3 separate regions of the Homo sapiens genome follow, and all the other regions are linked to region 1. The links are contacts of gene promoters, found by promoter capture Hi-C in human tissues and cell types (Jung and others, 2019). All regions are on one chromosome and are shown on one strand. Each heading gives the region's core, a stretch centred on a gene start or on the middle of the fragment in contact. The rest is flanking DNA. Distances are from core to core; before and after follow the strand shown. Region 1 holds the start of TACO1 (translational activator of cytochrome c oxidase I). Region 2 has its middle 10 kb from the start of MARCHF10-AS1. Region 3 overlaps TANC2 (tetratricopeptide repeat, ankyrin repeat and coiled-coil containing 2).

Evidence for each region. The method cuts DNA at HindIII sites, captures the fragments that hold promoters and counts their contacts. A contact is called where the count stands out against the background at its distance.
Region 2: a contact is called between a fragment that was not itself captured here and the fragment with the promoter of TACO1 in region 1, in 1 of the 25 tissues and cell types used here (spleen).
Region 3: a fragment that was not itself captured here is called in contact with the fragment with the promoter of TACO1 in region 1 in 2 of the 25 tissues and cell types used here (IMR-90 fibroblasts and dorsolateral prefrontal cortex).

The regions. Positions count from the first base shown.
Region 1 is chr17:63,598,430-63,602,937 of GRCh38, forward strand. TACO1 (translational activator of cytochrome c oxidase I) reads left to right here and starts at 2,466. Exons shown (of 5, transcript NM_016360.4): 1 at 2,466-2,934. The coding sequence starts at 2,655. The HindIII fragment of the contact is 17,557 bases long and covers 1-4,508 here.
Region 2 is chr17:62,693,966-62,698,473 of GRCh38, forward strand. No RefSeq gene overlaps it. Among named protein-coding and RNA genes, the nearest start is that of MARCHF10-AS1, 10 kb to the right of the region's middle. The HindIII fragment of the contact is 8,069 bases long and covers 1-4,508 here.
Region 3 is chr17:63,000,992-63,005,499 of GRCh38, forward strand. All of the region lies in intron 1 of TANC2 (tetratricopeptide repeat, ankyrin repeat and coiled-coil containing 2), which reads left to right. Among named protein-coding and RNA genes, the nearest start is that of TANC2, 37 kb to the left of the region's middle. The HindIII fragment of the contact is 8,308 bases long and covers 1-4,508 here.

The DNA.
Region 1 (4,508 bases), core at 1,216-3,715:
ATGAAAAGATGCTTACCATTAGTAGTCATTCAGGAAATACAATCAAAACCACAATGAGATAATACTTCTCACCCACAAGGATGGTGATAACTATAGTCAAAAAGAATAACAAATTTAGCCAGTGGCTCACACCTGTAATCTCATCTACTTGGGAGACTGAGATGGGAAGATCACTTGAGCCCAGGAGTTCTATGCTGCAGTCAGCTATGATTGCTCCACTGGACTCTAGCCTGGGTAACAAAGCAAAAAAAAAAAAAAAAAATTCATGATATGGAGAAATTAAACCCTCATATATTGCTGGTGGGAATGTAAAATGATACAACCACTTTAGAAGACAGTCTGGCAATCCCACAAAAGGTTAAACATAGTTATGATATGACCCAGCAATTCCACTCCTAGGTATATAACTAAAAGAAGTGAAAACATAGGTCCACACAGCAATGTGTACATGAATGTTCACAGCCTCATTATTCATCATAGAAGGTGGAAACAACCACATGTCCATTGCCTGATGAACAGATAAATAAAACGTGGTATATTCATACAATGGAATATTATTTGGCAATAGAAATGAAATACTGATACATGCTACAACATGCAAGAATCCTGAAAACATCATGCTAAGTGAAAGAAGCCAGTTACCAAAGGCCACATAGTGTGTGGGCCCATTCATATTAAATGTCCAGAAGAGGCAAACCCACAGAGACAGAAGTAAATTGGTGATTGCCTAGGGCTGTGGGAATTGGGGGGAAATAGGGAATGATTGCTAATGGGTACAGGACTTCTTTTGGGGATGATGAAAATGTAAAATCAATTGTGCACAGCTCTGAATATTCTATAACACATTGTACACTTTGAATTGGTGATCTGTGTGATCTGTGAAATATGTCAAAACTTAATTTTTTAAAAAATGAGAACTGTGTTGGGCATAGGAAGTACAGTCCTACTCTCAGAGAATTTAGTATTACGGTAGAAACAGATATAAACATTTTGATATTTTTTTAAAAGGTAAGTGCTAAGGTGCAAGCATGTATGAAGGGCTATGGGCACCCACCGCACCTGGCTAATTTTTGTATTTTTAGTAGAGACGGGGTTTCACCATGTTGACCAGGCTGGTCTTGAACTCCTGACCTCAAGTGATCTGCCAGCCTCGGCCTCCCAAAGTGCTAGGATTACAGGCGTGAGCCACCGCACCCAGCCCCATGGAGGTTCTTATATAATAAAAAATAAAAAATCTATGCTTTTGTGCTTTGCATCCATTATCCCATTTAGTCCTCACAAGGCCATTCTATGGTAAGGAAACTGAAACAGGAAAGTAAAGGAACTTGCCCAAGGATACACTAGAAAATGGAACAACCAGGGTTTGAAGCCACCCAGTCTAACTGCAGAGGGCACAAACTTGGACTTCACACTGTCCTGCTTCTCTCTCTCTCTCTCTCTCTTTTTTTTTTTTTTTTTTGAGTTGGATTCTCGCTCTGTCGCACAGGCTGGAGTGCAGTGGCGCGATCTCGGCTCACTGCAACCTCCTCTTCCCGGGTTCAAGCGATTCTCCTGCCTCATCCTTCTGAGTAGCTGGCATTACAGGCGCGCGCCACCACGGCCGGCTAATTTTTTTGTATTTTTAGTAGAGACGGGGTTTCACCATGTTGGTCAGACTGGTCTGGCACTCCTGACCTAGCGATCCGTCTGCCTCAGCCTCCCAAAGTGCTGGGATTACAGGCGTGAGCCACCGCGCCCGGCTGTCCTGCTTCTCTACCTGATATGTCATGCCCTTTGGACTTAATCTCACCAGCATGGGAGTCACTACAAAGCTTTTCAGCAGCTGCCGCTTTGTTTCTCTCCATCTTCTAACGGATTCGGTTTTCTCTTTCGAGACAGCAGAGAGAAAATGAAGAGGGGAGTTTAGCTCCAAAGGGCTTGTCTGATCATTCTCCCTCTCCCAAAGGCCTGTGACTCATCTGAGTCTGTCCCAAACCATCTCTTGCATCTAGGGGCTTAAGTGCACTGTGGCTATTTACATAAAACTTTATTACTTTAAAGCTCTAAGGGCTCATTTTGTGTTTCTAACTTTCCTATGTTGATAAAGCAAATATTAGATCCTTATTTATAAATAGGGAAGACGTTCAGAGAGATTAAACATTTGGGCAATTCACTTCTCTGGCAGCAGTTTCTTTCCCAGTACAATGAGGCAACAACAAAATATCATTCTGGACTTGCTCAGATTTAGGCAGCAATTTGGAAGCAAAGTCAGTTTCATAACTCAGATGTGTCTCCACTAAAACATTATGAGAAACAAAGTCCGGCGCTCTCTAGGCAACCGTGAGGGCTTGAGCACTAACTAGATCTGCTCAAGGGCAAGAGAGGAGCGAGTACCGTGCAGCCACGGAACGGACTTTGCGGGCAGTGGGGACGTGTTTTTGGAGCGAACCCGGTAAAGGAAGTGTGCTACGCCATCAAGGGCCCCCAGTCCCGGGTGCCGCGGGGACAGTGTAGGGTCATTAGCTGTTGAGCCGCCCCGGGCGGGCCCAAGCCTTTGGATCTCAGGTGACCGGCACAGGCGGCCGCGGGGTCCGGAACTGCTTGTTCCGGCAGTGGAAGAGACGCGCCGGCGTTGGCCGCTGCTGCTAGCAGCTTGAACCCCAGGGTCGGGACCGATGTCGGCTTGGGCTGCTGCCAGCCTAAGCAGGGCCGCTGCCCGATGCTTGCTGGCACGAGGCCCCGGGGTCAGGGCGGCTCCTCCGCGCGACCCCCGGCCCTCCCACCCCGAGCCCCGGGGCTGCGGTGCCGCTCCGGGCAGGACGCTGCACTTTACCGCGGCTGTCCCCGCCGGGCACAACAAGTGGTCCAAAGTCAGGCACATCAAGGGTCCGAAGGACGTCGAAAGGAGTCGCATCTTCTCCAAACTCTGTTTGAACATCCGCCTGGCAGTGAAAGGTGAGACCCTGACGGTCACCCAGCACTGGCTGCCGCTGCCCTCTCAGTGCCCGCAGCCTCGCTTGCCTCTCGGAATTGGGCCCACCTAGATCTCCGGCCCTTCACTTTGTTTTCCTTCCCCAGTACCCACCATTGCCCACCTCATAAATCCTCAAAACACCTACCCTACGTTGGAGGTTCTCACTCACTTTTCCAGACGCTGAGCATCTGGCCAGTTTGTCAGAGAGGGAGCTGCTCTTAAGAAGATAAGCCGGTAAGGTAGAAGTGACTTCATCCTAATCTAGCTGGGTACTTAATAGAAACAAGCCCTAAGAGTCAGGGCAGATGTGTGTCTCTCCTGAAGAGACAAATCAACCCCTCTGAAGTCGCCTCAAGTACCTTATTGGTTGTGGCAGGGGCACTGAGTAAAGCTATTACTTAAGTGCTTAGGCCTTAGCTTAGGCCTTAGTTTGCTTCATTAATGTTTCCCCAAGACACATTTCCTTGGAAGGTAGATTTGCAGCCATGTCTTTTCTCCCTTAGGTCGCCACACTGAAAAGGCTTTTTTTCTGTTTAGGGCCAGACATCTGTAGGAGCAAAGGAAAAGTCCTGTAGAAAGCATGGACTTTGGACTGGGCGCAGTGGCACAGCCTGTAATCCCAGGCCAGAGGCAGGCAGATCACTTGAGGTCAGGAGTTCAGGACTAGCCTGGCCAACATGGGGAAACCCTGTGTCTACTAAAAATAACAAAAAAAAAAAAAAAAAAAAACAGCTGGGCATGGTGGTGCATGCCTGTAATGCTGGCTACTCGGGAGGCTGAAGCAGGAGAATTGCTTGAACCCAGGAGTTGAAGGCTGCAGTAAGCGAGATTGCTCTACTGTACTCCATCCAGCCTGGGTGACAGAGCAAGACTCCATCTCAAAAAAAAAAAAAAAAAAAGAGAGAGAAACTGTGGACTTTGGAGTCAGGAAGACTGGTTTCTGTCACTGACTAACCTTGAACAAGTAGCTTAACTTGAGTTTCTCTGAAACAAGGATAATACCCACCTTGAGGTAGTTTATGGTTTATGGCACATCATAGGCATTCAGTTAATGTTAATTTACCCCCTCAGCTCATGCCTGGTATTTGTTTGCTTCCTTTTCTTCAAAATTCTTGATATTAAGTTCAAGCAACTTTTATTTATTTATTTATTTATTTATTTTGAGACAGAGTCTCACTCTGTCACCCAGGGTAGAGTGCAGTGGCGTGATCTTGGCCCATTGCAACCTCCACCTCCCAGGCTCAAGTGATTCTCCTGCTTTAGCCTCCGGAGTAGCTGGGACTACAAGTGTGCACCACCATGCCTGGCTAAATTTTTTTGTATTTTTAATAGAGACAGGGTTTCACCATGTTGGCCAGGCTGGTCTCGAACTCCTGACCTCAAATGATCTACCCACCTCCACCTCCCAAAGTGCTGGGATTGCAGGTATCAGCCACTGCATCCCAATGAAGTTCAACCAACTTGTGTTTATTTTGTGCCAGGCATGCCATTGGTACTAGAAAGATGATGAGATACAGCCCCTACCCTCAGATCACAATGTCATGTGAACATTTCA
Region 2 (4,508 bases), core at 1,309-3,808, 900 kb before region 1:
TGCAGAGCACTTAGAACAGTGCCTCTGGGCTCTGCAAGCGCTAGGCGTTACTGCCGTTTCTGGGCTGCGGCTCCAGGGGAGCACTTGATGTGTCCAGGCCGGCCCTGGGTGGGGGCTCCACATCACCGTCCTTCCAAGGCAGCCATCATACCTGCCCTCTAACAGCCTGAAAGTTCACATGTGTCCTTAGGGAGCCTGGGCTCTGAAACCACAGAAGGCAGAATGGACGGCAGGACCTTTACTCACCTGCTTGTTCATTCAGCCGGTATTTGAGCTGGAGATGCCAACAAAGGAAGGTTAACCAACGCCAATCGGGCGAGGCAGGGGGAAGCTGCTAATGTGGCCTGTGTGTCTGGGGAGGGTCTCACTAGAGGGAGTGAGATTGACTGCAGCCTGAAGGAGGTGGCGGAGTGAGCAATGCAAATATCTGGGCCAGGGCTAGGGGGGCATCCCTGGTGCTTTAGGGGACCAGCAGGGAGGCGAGGTGGGCTGAGGCTGAGATGAGTCAGGCAGGGCCAGATTGTCCAAGGCCCTGAAGGCAGTGGTAGAATGTAGCATTATTTTCAGGATAGTGGGAAGTCAATGGGAATGGCTAATCAGGCTGACCTTTTAACAAGATCATTCTGGCTAGGAGTTGAGAAATAGACAATGGATGGGAAACGGGGGAGTGAAAGCAGGAAGGCTGGTGCGGAAGCTCTTGTAATAATTCAGGCACAACAAGACGGTGGTTTGTTGGGATCAGGACTGCAGTAGTGGTCAGATTCTGTGTGTGTGTGTGTGTGTGTGTGTGTGTGTGTGCGCGCGCGTGCGTGTGTGTGTGTTTTGCCCTGTTCATGATATTTAAAATAAGTTTCCACTTTTATGAATAGACAATGCAGTCACGCAGTCTGCATTGCGTGGGATACCTAAATGATATCCCAAGATAGATGTTGCGCAAGTCCTGCCCCTGCCCGTCGCCCTCCAGCCTATACCCTCCTGCCCTGTCAGTTTCCTGTCTTTCCAGTGTTTCTTTGTGAAAGCAAATGAACGCCAGATTGGACTGAAGGGATGGCGGATGCCCTTGCTGGGGATGGGATCTGCCTGGGGAAAGGCAGTGGGAGTCAGGAAGCACTCCAAGCTTCCCGCCTGGACTGCAGGGTGAATGGGGTGCTGTTTCCTGAGACAGGAGCCCTAGGGAGAGCCCATGAGCTGCTGGCCTGAGTCCAGGACTACGGTGGAGCCCAGGGGACCCCCTCCAGCAATCCTCTCTGTGCCGCCCCAGCAACAGCAGGACCCATGGAAGGCGCCTAATCACTCAGGGGAGGGAGTCCCAGTCCTGTGGGAGGTTCACCCTGGAGTGAGTTGCTATCTAGCCCTGCAGCCCAAACAGCTCCCTTTGTGAGTTAAGTGCCCTGCCACTGCCCACAGTGAGAGGTGAAGCCAGCTGGACTTCCTAGGTTGAGTGGGGACTTGGAGAACTTTTCTTACAAGAGGTTTGTAAAATCAGTGCTCTGTAAAAATGCACCAATTGGTGCTCTGTAGCTAGCTAGAGGTTTGTAAAATGCACCAATCAGTGCTCTGTAAAAATGCACTAATCAGCACTCTGTACCTGGCTAGAGGTTTGTAAAATGGACCAATCAGCACTCTGTAAAATGGACCAATCAGCAGGACATGGGCGGGGACAAATAAGGGAATAAAAGCTGTGTCCTCCCCACCCACCCCACCCCTAGCAGCAACCCGCTCAGGTCCTCTTCCATACTGTGGAAGCTTTGTTCTTTCACTCTTCACAATAAATCTTGCTGCTGCTCCTCACTCTTTGGGTCCGTGCCACTTTTAAGAGCTGTAACACTAGGCCAGGCATGGTGGCTCACGCCTGTAATCCCAGCACTTTGGGAGGCCGAGACAGGCAGATCATGAGGTCAGGAGATCAAGACTATCCTGGCTAACATGGTGAAACCCCATCTCTATTAAAAATACAAAAAATTAACTGGGCGTGGTGACAGGCGTCTGTAGTCCCAGCTACTCGGGAGGCTGAGGCAGGAGAATGGCGTGAACCCAGGAGGCGGAGCTTGCAGTGAGCCGAGATTGTGCCACTGCACTCCAGCCTGGGCGACAGAGCGAGACTCTGTCTCAAAAACAAAAAAAAAGAGCTGTAACACTCACCGTGAAGGTCCGAGGCTTCATTCTTGAGGTCAGTGAGACCACGAACCCACTGGAAGGAACCAACTCCAGACACAACACCACAAGAAACATTGGGGGAGAGGCCCCCCAAGACCCTAGTGACTCTAACCTCGGGAGAGAAGAAAGGTCAAGGAGTGAGGTCCGGATCACTAGCTTGAGGGGTGGGAGGGAGCAGCGGAGGGACGGAGGACCCCAGTGGCCAGAGCTGCCCTCGTCAGTGGCTGGTGCCTGCTCTCCTCACGTCTCTCTGCCTTGCTCAGGTGACGAGTCTCCCCAGGGCCCTGCACCCACCTGCAAGCATTTCAGACAGCGTCACGGGTGCCTGGAGGCTACCCCTAGACCTCGTTCTAAGCCTGCCCAGAGATGACTAAGGGAGGCTCCTGCATCTCTCTGAAGGGGCAGGAGGCAGGCTCTGGATGCCGGCCACTCACCCTCTGGCTCAGGATAGCCCTGGTGGCAGTCTCCTTCCTTTCTGCTCATTTCATTTCAATACATCAAGTACCTCCTCTACATACCAGGCTCTTTGCTGGGTGGCAGATGCCCCCAAGCCTATCCTGGCAGGCCTGGGCAATCAGCACTGTATGCCAGGCGCTAGGCCCAGCCTTCACTTGCAGGGTTAACCCGCCCCGCTCTGGCCACCTGGATCCGTGAATGAATGGGAGAATGCGGCTGCTCTCCAGAGAACAGCATTCTCTCAACCGCTTCTTGTCGCGCCAGAGATGGCCTCCTCGAAGGTGTGCTGGCAGAGCTGGCCTGGCCCAGTGGGCAGCCCTGTGAGGCCGCAGGGGTGAGGAGCCGCCAGCCACACCACATGGCTCTCCTGGAACGGAGCCACCTGAGCCCGGCCAAGCCGCCTCGAGCACCAGGGCTTGAGTCCATTGCAGGCACAAGGCAAAGAATTGCGACTTGAGGGAGGACCCGGAGGAAGGCAGGCTGGAGGGAGGGAGGGCGGGCAAAGGACAGCAGGGAAATGAAGGGGGCTGTGAAAGACCAGCACCAGATGAAAGTACCGAGATGTTCCGGACAGGCCTGATTTTCTTTATCTTCGGGGCTGGGACTGCCAAGAGGCCCCGGGGAAAGCCTGCAGGCTTCACTCCCACCAGAACCAGCACCATTTGAGGGACAGATTTCAATCCTTCCTTGGCCAGACAAGCAGGCGGGATGCCAGCGCTGGAGAAAGGGGAGGAGGAGGAGCGGTGGGCAGGCCTTTCCTGCTGGAGGTGGACACGCTGGGGGCGCTGAGGTTCAAGGCCACACAGTGAGGAGTGCAGAACCTTAACTGTCTCCTTGCATCGGCTGATGGCAGAGCTTTAGTTATAGCCATTTCAGGGAAATCCTGGTCAGTTAAGGTTTTCTAGTGCAGTTGGGATTTTCGCCTATATTTCCAGGTGCCTCTAAGGTCCTATGGAGCGTCCAGGTTTCACAGCTGGGGGAGGGACATCTGGTTCCCGGTCATTTATGTCCCCGCTGGCTTATGCAGGGGTGTCCTGCCCTTCTGCATCTCCCTCAGGGACTTGGGGAACCTTGGATGGTGTCTTTCCTCATACTGGGGCTGCAGGGGGCTCAGAACACTGCCTCTGACCCACTATTCCTCCATGACAATGATAATAACAAAATAGGTATTATTTACTATGTACACGCCCTGTTCTAACTGCTTAACACGTATTAACTCACTTAATCTTCCCAATACAACATAAGGTAGGTGCTACTGTCCCCCTCTTACAGATGAGAAAGCTAAGGCACAAAGGTGAAGAACTTGCCATGCCACCTCTCCTCCCTGCACTGGAAAACGTGTTGTGGGGTGGGCAACAGGGCTACAGAGAGCCCCTCGAGATCTTGTAGTCAGGCCTGGGGACTAAAGAACTTTGTCCCAACCTCTCATCTCTGGAGAGTTTTAGGGCTATTTTGAGACTTGAGGGCTAAGAATGACCTCTTTCCTTCTGAGCCTCCACGGCCTCCCTTCCCAAAGCAGTGGCGGAGGGACACCTGGGTCTCCTGGGCTGTGGGGTACAATGCATAGAAATAAAGTGGGGCTCGGTTGACGTATTAGACATTTATACCATTGGGGATGCTTTATTTTATATTTTAGCATTATTTATTTTTATTTTTTATTTTTCTGAGACGGAGTCTTGCTCTGTCACCCAGGCTGGAGTGCAGTGGCGCGATCTCAGCTCACTGCCTCCCGGGCTTCAGCGATTCTCCTGCGTCAGCCTCCTGAGTAGCTGAGACTACAGGCACCCTCCACCAGGCTTGGCTAATTATTTTTTTATTTTTAGTAGAGACCAGGTTTGACCATGTTGGCCAGGCTGGTCATGAACTCCTGACCTCAAGTGATCCGCCCACCTCGG
Region 3 (4,508 bases), core at 880-3,379, 600 kb before region 1:
TATATCTTCAAGAAGTAGCCATCACTATAATTTATGCCACCCACCAAAATATTTTACCTAAATCAACTTAAGTATGTTCTCCTGGTCTTTTTTTGACTCTTAGTAAATTTTAAGTAATAAGTTGCTGTTTTTATGATAATGATAATCTGCACTCATTTTTTTCCTTTCAAAACTTTGAACAACTATGTGTAAATAATCAGAGTTTGAGTTAGAAGTTCTAAGTAAGCCTAGAATATTCTTGGTTTTCCCTCAGATAAAATTTTGAACTATTCCTACAATTTTCATGCCTTTTCTTGATTCCCTGGTACACATTCATTCTAGGTAGTCCTCATTGTTCTGGTTGATTTAAAATCATTTCTCGCTCAATGAAACTTACTTTTATTATGCCCCTTCTTTACTAAGTCAGTAAATCTGATGAATTGTGTCTTTGCTCAGTTTATTTACTCATTCAAGAAATGTTGAGAGCCTACCATGAACTAGGTGTTGTGGTTAAAAAGATTAATAAGACCAGGTTTCCTTTTCGTTTTTCTTTTCTTTTCTTTTTTTTTTTTCTTTTTCTTTCTTTCTTTTTTTTTTTCCAAGATGGAGTCTCCCTCTGTTGCCCAGGCTGGAGTCCTCTGGCAGCTCGCTGCACCCTTTGCCATCCGGGTTCAAGCGATTCTCCTGCTTCAGACTCCCAAGTAGCTGGGACTACAGGTGCATGCCAGCATGCCCGGCTAACTTTTTTGTATTTTTTAGTAGAGACAGGGTTTCACCACATTGGCCAGGCTGGTCTTGAACTGCTGACCTCAAGTGATCTGCCCGCCTCTACCTCCCAAAGTGTTGAGATTACAGGTATAAGCCACTGCGCCTGGTCAAGACCAGATTTCTTTATAAGGGATTTGATATGGACAATGGTATACAAACAAAAATATGTAATTGATAAATTCAGCAAATATTTAGCACTTCCTGTGTATCAAGTATTATTTTCCATTTACAGGGCTGTAGCAATGAATTAAACAGGCATCTTCTCTTCCCTCCTGGAGCTTATATTCTAGTAGGGAAACTGATAAGACAATCAGGTATATAAGATGTCTTTTGGAGGTAAGTATTTGGGGAAGAACACATAAGAAGTTATGGGTGACGGTTTTGGAGCATAAATCATACCACAGAGTTGCCCTCCCCTGGAATTAAGGAAGCTGGTCTTTTGTATCTCAATGATTAATAATTAGTCATTGACTGAGAACCTCTCTAGGGTAGAAGTAGTAAGGCATGAAGCTTTCTGGGCAAGATGGTGCCAGTTAGCCAAAGGCAGTTCTCTGGAGAAGTGGGGGAGCATCTCCAAGCCATTAACAGCTCAGTTATTTACATTTTAAATAGTTTTAGTTATCGCATGTATATCCACTACTTACAGTTTACTGTTAACATTTTATTTTGTTATAATTCATCACATATCTGCCTCTCTATGCCTCCATCAGTCCATCAATCCACCTTATTTTTTGATGCATTTCAAAGTAATAATCTGCAGACATCTATATGCTTTCTCCTATTTAAGCATGAATATCATTAAGTGGATTTTAGCATTTGTTTACATTTTTCATTTGAAAAAAGTAATCATCTTCAAAACATATAGAATATTACCATCATCCTAGAAAGGTTCCTCGTGCCATTTCTAAGTTGATCCCCATATCTACCCCCAAGAGACAACCATTATTCTGATTTTTTTGGCATAGATTATTCTTGAAGTTGGTATAAATGTAATAATGCAATGCATATGCTTCTATGTAAAGGTTCTTTCACTTGGCATATTATATGTTGTGATTTATCTGTGTTGACTGTATGAGTAGTTCATTCCTTTTTCTTGCTGAGTAATATTCCTCTTTGTGAATATCCCATAGTTTATTCGTCTGTTGATGGACACCTAGTCTAGGTATAGGGTATTATAAATCTGTTATGAAAATTGTTGTACTAGTCTTTTCATTATGCATATATGTTTTAATTTCTCTTGGGTAAATAGTAGAGGTGGAGTCATGCATTAGGTGTACAGTAAGTTTCATAATAAACAGCTATATTTTTCTCCAAAGCCATTGTACCATTTTATACTCCTAAAATAGTGTGTTGGAATTTAAATTACTCTTCATTGTGATCAATATTTGATATTGTCAAACTTTTTAAAGTTAGCTCTTCTGGTGGGAGTATAGTGGATAGCTAATTATAATTTGTATTTCTGCAATGACATATAATGTTGAGCCCTTATAATTTGGGTGTGGGTCATTTATATATCTACTTTTTGAAACTACCTGTTCAAATCTTTTACCCATTTGAAAATCGATTGTCTCTTTATTACTGAGTTGTAGGTGTTCTTTATATACAGTAGTCCCTCCGTATCCACATTCCAAGACACACCCCACAGTGGATGCCTGAAATGACAGTACCAAATCCTGTACACGCTATATGCAGTAACTGATCTGATAACCAGGGTGGCTGCTAATTGACCAGTGGTCAGGTGGCATATACAGCTTGGATAAACTAGACAAAGGGATGTTTTACCTCCCAGGCAGGATGGAGCAGGATGGTGTGAGATTTCATCAGGCTACTTAGAATGGTGTGTAATTTAAAACATGAATTATTTCTGCAGTTTTCCATGTAATATTTTTAGACTGCAGGTAACCGAAACCATGGAAAGCAAAACTGCAGATAAAGGGGGACTACTGTATCTTGGATGTAAGTCCTGTGTTATATATGTTTTGTGAATAATTTTTCCCAGTTTGTGGCTTGCCTGTTTTCTTTAATGTTATCTTAGCAGATGTTTTTAAATTTTTAATAACCTCCAAATATATGTTTTTTTAAGTGGCTGTTGCTTTCTATGTTCCTAAGAATCCTTTGTCTACCTGTAAATAGTGAGACAGTCTGTTTTTTAATTTGTTTGTTTTTTTTCAAACTGTACTCTGCTTTCTTGAAGATACTTCCCAGAAACAGTCATGGTATTTCAGGCAGGACATGGGCAGACAATCATTAACAGTGTACAACAACTTTCAGACTCCTTCTTTGATGGACCACCAAAAATCAGAAAGCCACTATAAAACCCATGAAGTCTTCATTTGATGCTCAGAACAGGGAAAGTTTAGAGGGAGGGTTGACATTTCACATTTAGCTGTTGTTTAACAACTTTTCATGAGCCAGCCCTGACTTTCAGGTAGCGAAATGAAAATGGCAAAATTTATCTGAAGATCCTCAACTGCTGCTCTTTTGAGGGGCGCCATCTCAGTGGCATCACTGGAAGGTTCAGATTGCCTGACACACTGGTAACCAATTACTGGGGCTCAGGTCCCAACAGGTGTTTGGGCCTAAGGAGTTAAGTCTGTGCTGAAGGTGGAAAGGGAGAAGAGGACGTAAGAATGAATTTGTTTTTTCATACCACGTGGCATTTGTGCCAAGGTGGCTATGTGTGTCAAAGTCAGGAAATCCTTCTTCCTGGGAGCCAAGAGGAAGTTTCTTAAAACTAGAAGGGAAAAGGTGTTTTCCTTACATCAATCCAGCTTTGGATACATTCTAGTAGTGATATATGCCTCTTCCCCAAAAAGCAACAATGAAGTGTTCTGTGTGCTAACAGCATAGCTTTAAAAAAAAAAAAAAAAAAGGAAAACAAAATTCTGCATTTATATAAAACTTGATAAAAAATAGTATTTCAAACCGTACAGTCACCAGAGGTCCACAGTTGTCAAAAATGCACACACTTCACTTGGTATCTCCGGCAGCTTCAGCTTTCAGTGCCTGCTCTGTTTTGGCATTTCCATTTTCTGCAGGGTTATTCCCCTTACCCGCTTTGGGTACCTTCTTTCCTTTCTTTACCAAGGGCCTTTTTTGGCTTTGGCCCTGGTTTTAGAGGAGCAGGTTTAGCAGACAACCTTGTGGATTTTCTCTGTGGTTTATCCTTCACATTGGCTTTATCTCGTTTAGTATCTATCCCCTTCAATCCTTCTCGTGGGCATGGTGGCATCAGTGGTGGGATGTGGGCACTGATCACAGGGATGCAGTGACTCACGGGCTTTGGTTGATCTGGAGGTTGTTGTTGCCTTCTTCTTCACACTGCTCTGAATTTTTTTAAAAAAAATCTTTATAATTTTAGCTTTTATGTGATGTTTATTTTGAATTAATTTTAATAGCATGATATATAGGTCATTTTTTTTAAAAAATGCATTATCTCTTTGTTTCACCACGATTTGTTGAAAAGACTTTCCTTTTACCTATTAATGACTTGGTCAGAAACAAATGGCCATGTAGTGTAGGTCTTTTTCTGGACTGTCTGTTCTATTCTGTTGATCTACTTGTTAGTACTTCTGTTGATACCATATTCTCATCAACAAGAAAGAGCTGTAGAGTAAATTTTGAATTCAGGTGGTATAAATGCCCAAGCCTTTTTGTTGGTTTTCAACATTGCTTTGGTGTTTTCATTTCCTTGCATTATCATGTGTGCTTTAGAATCAGCTTTGCAATTTCTAAAAAATAACAAAAAAAAAAGCCTGCTG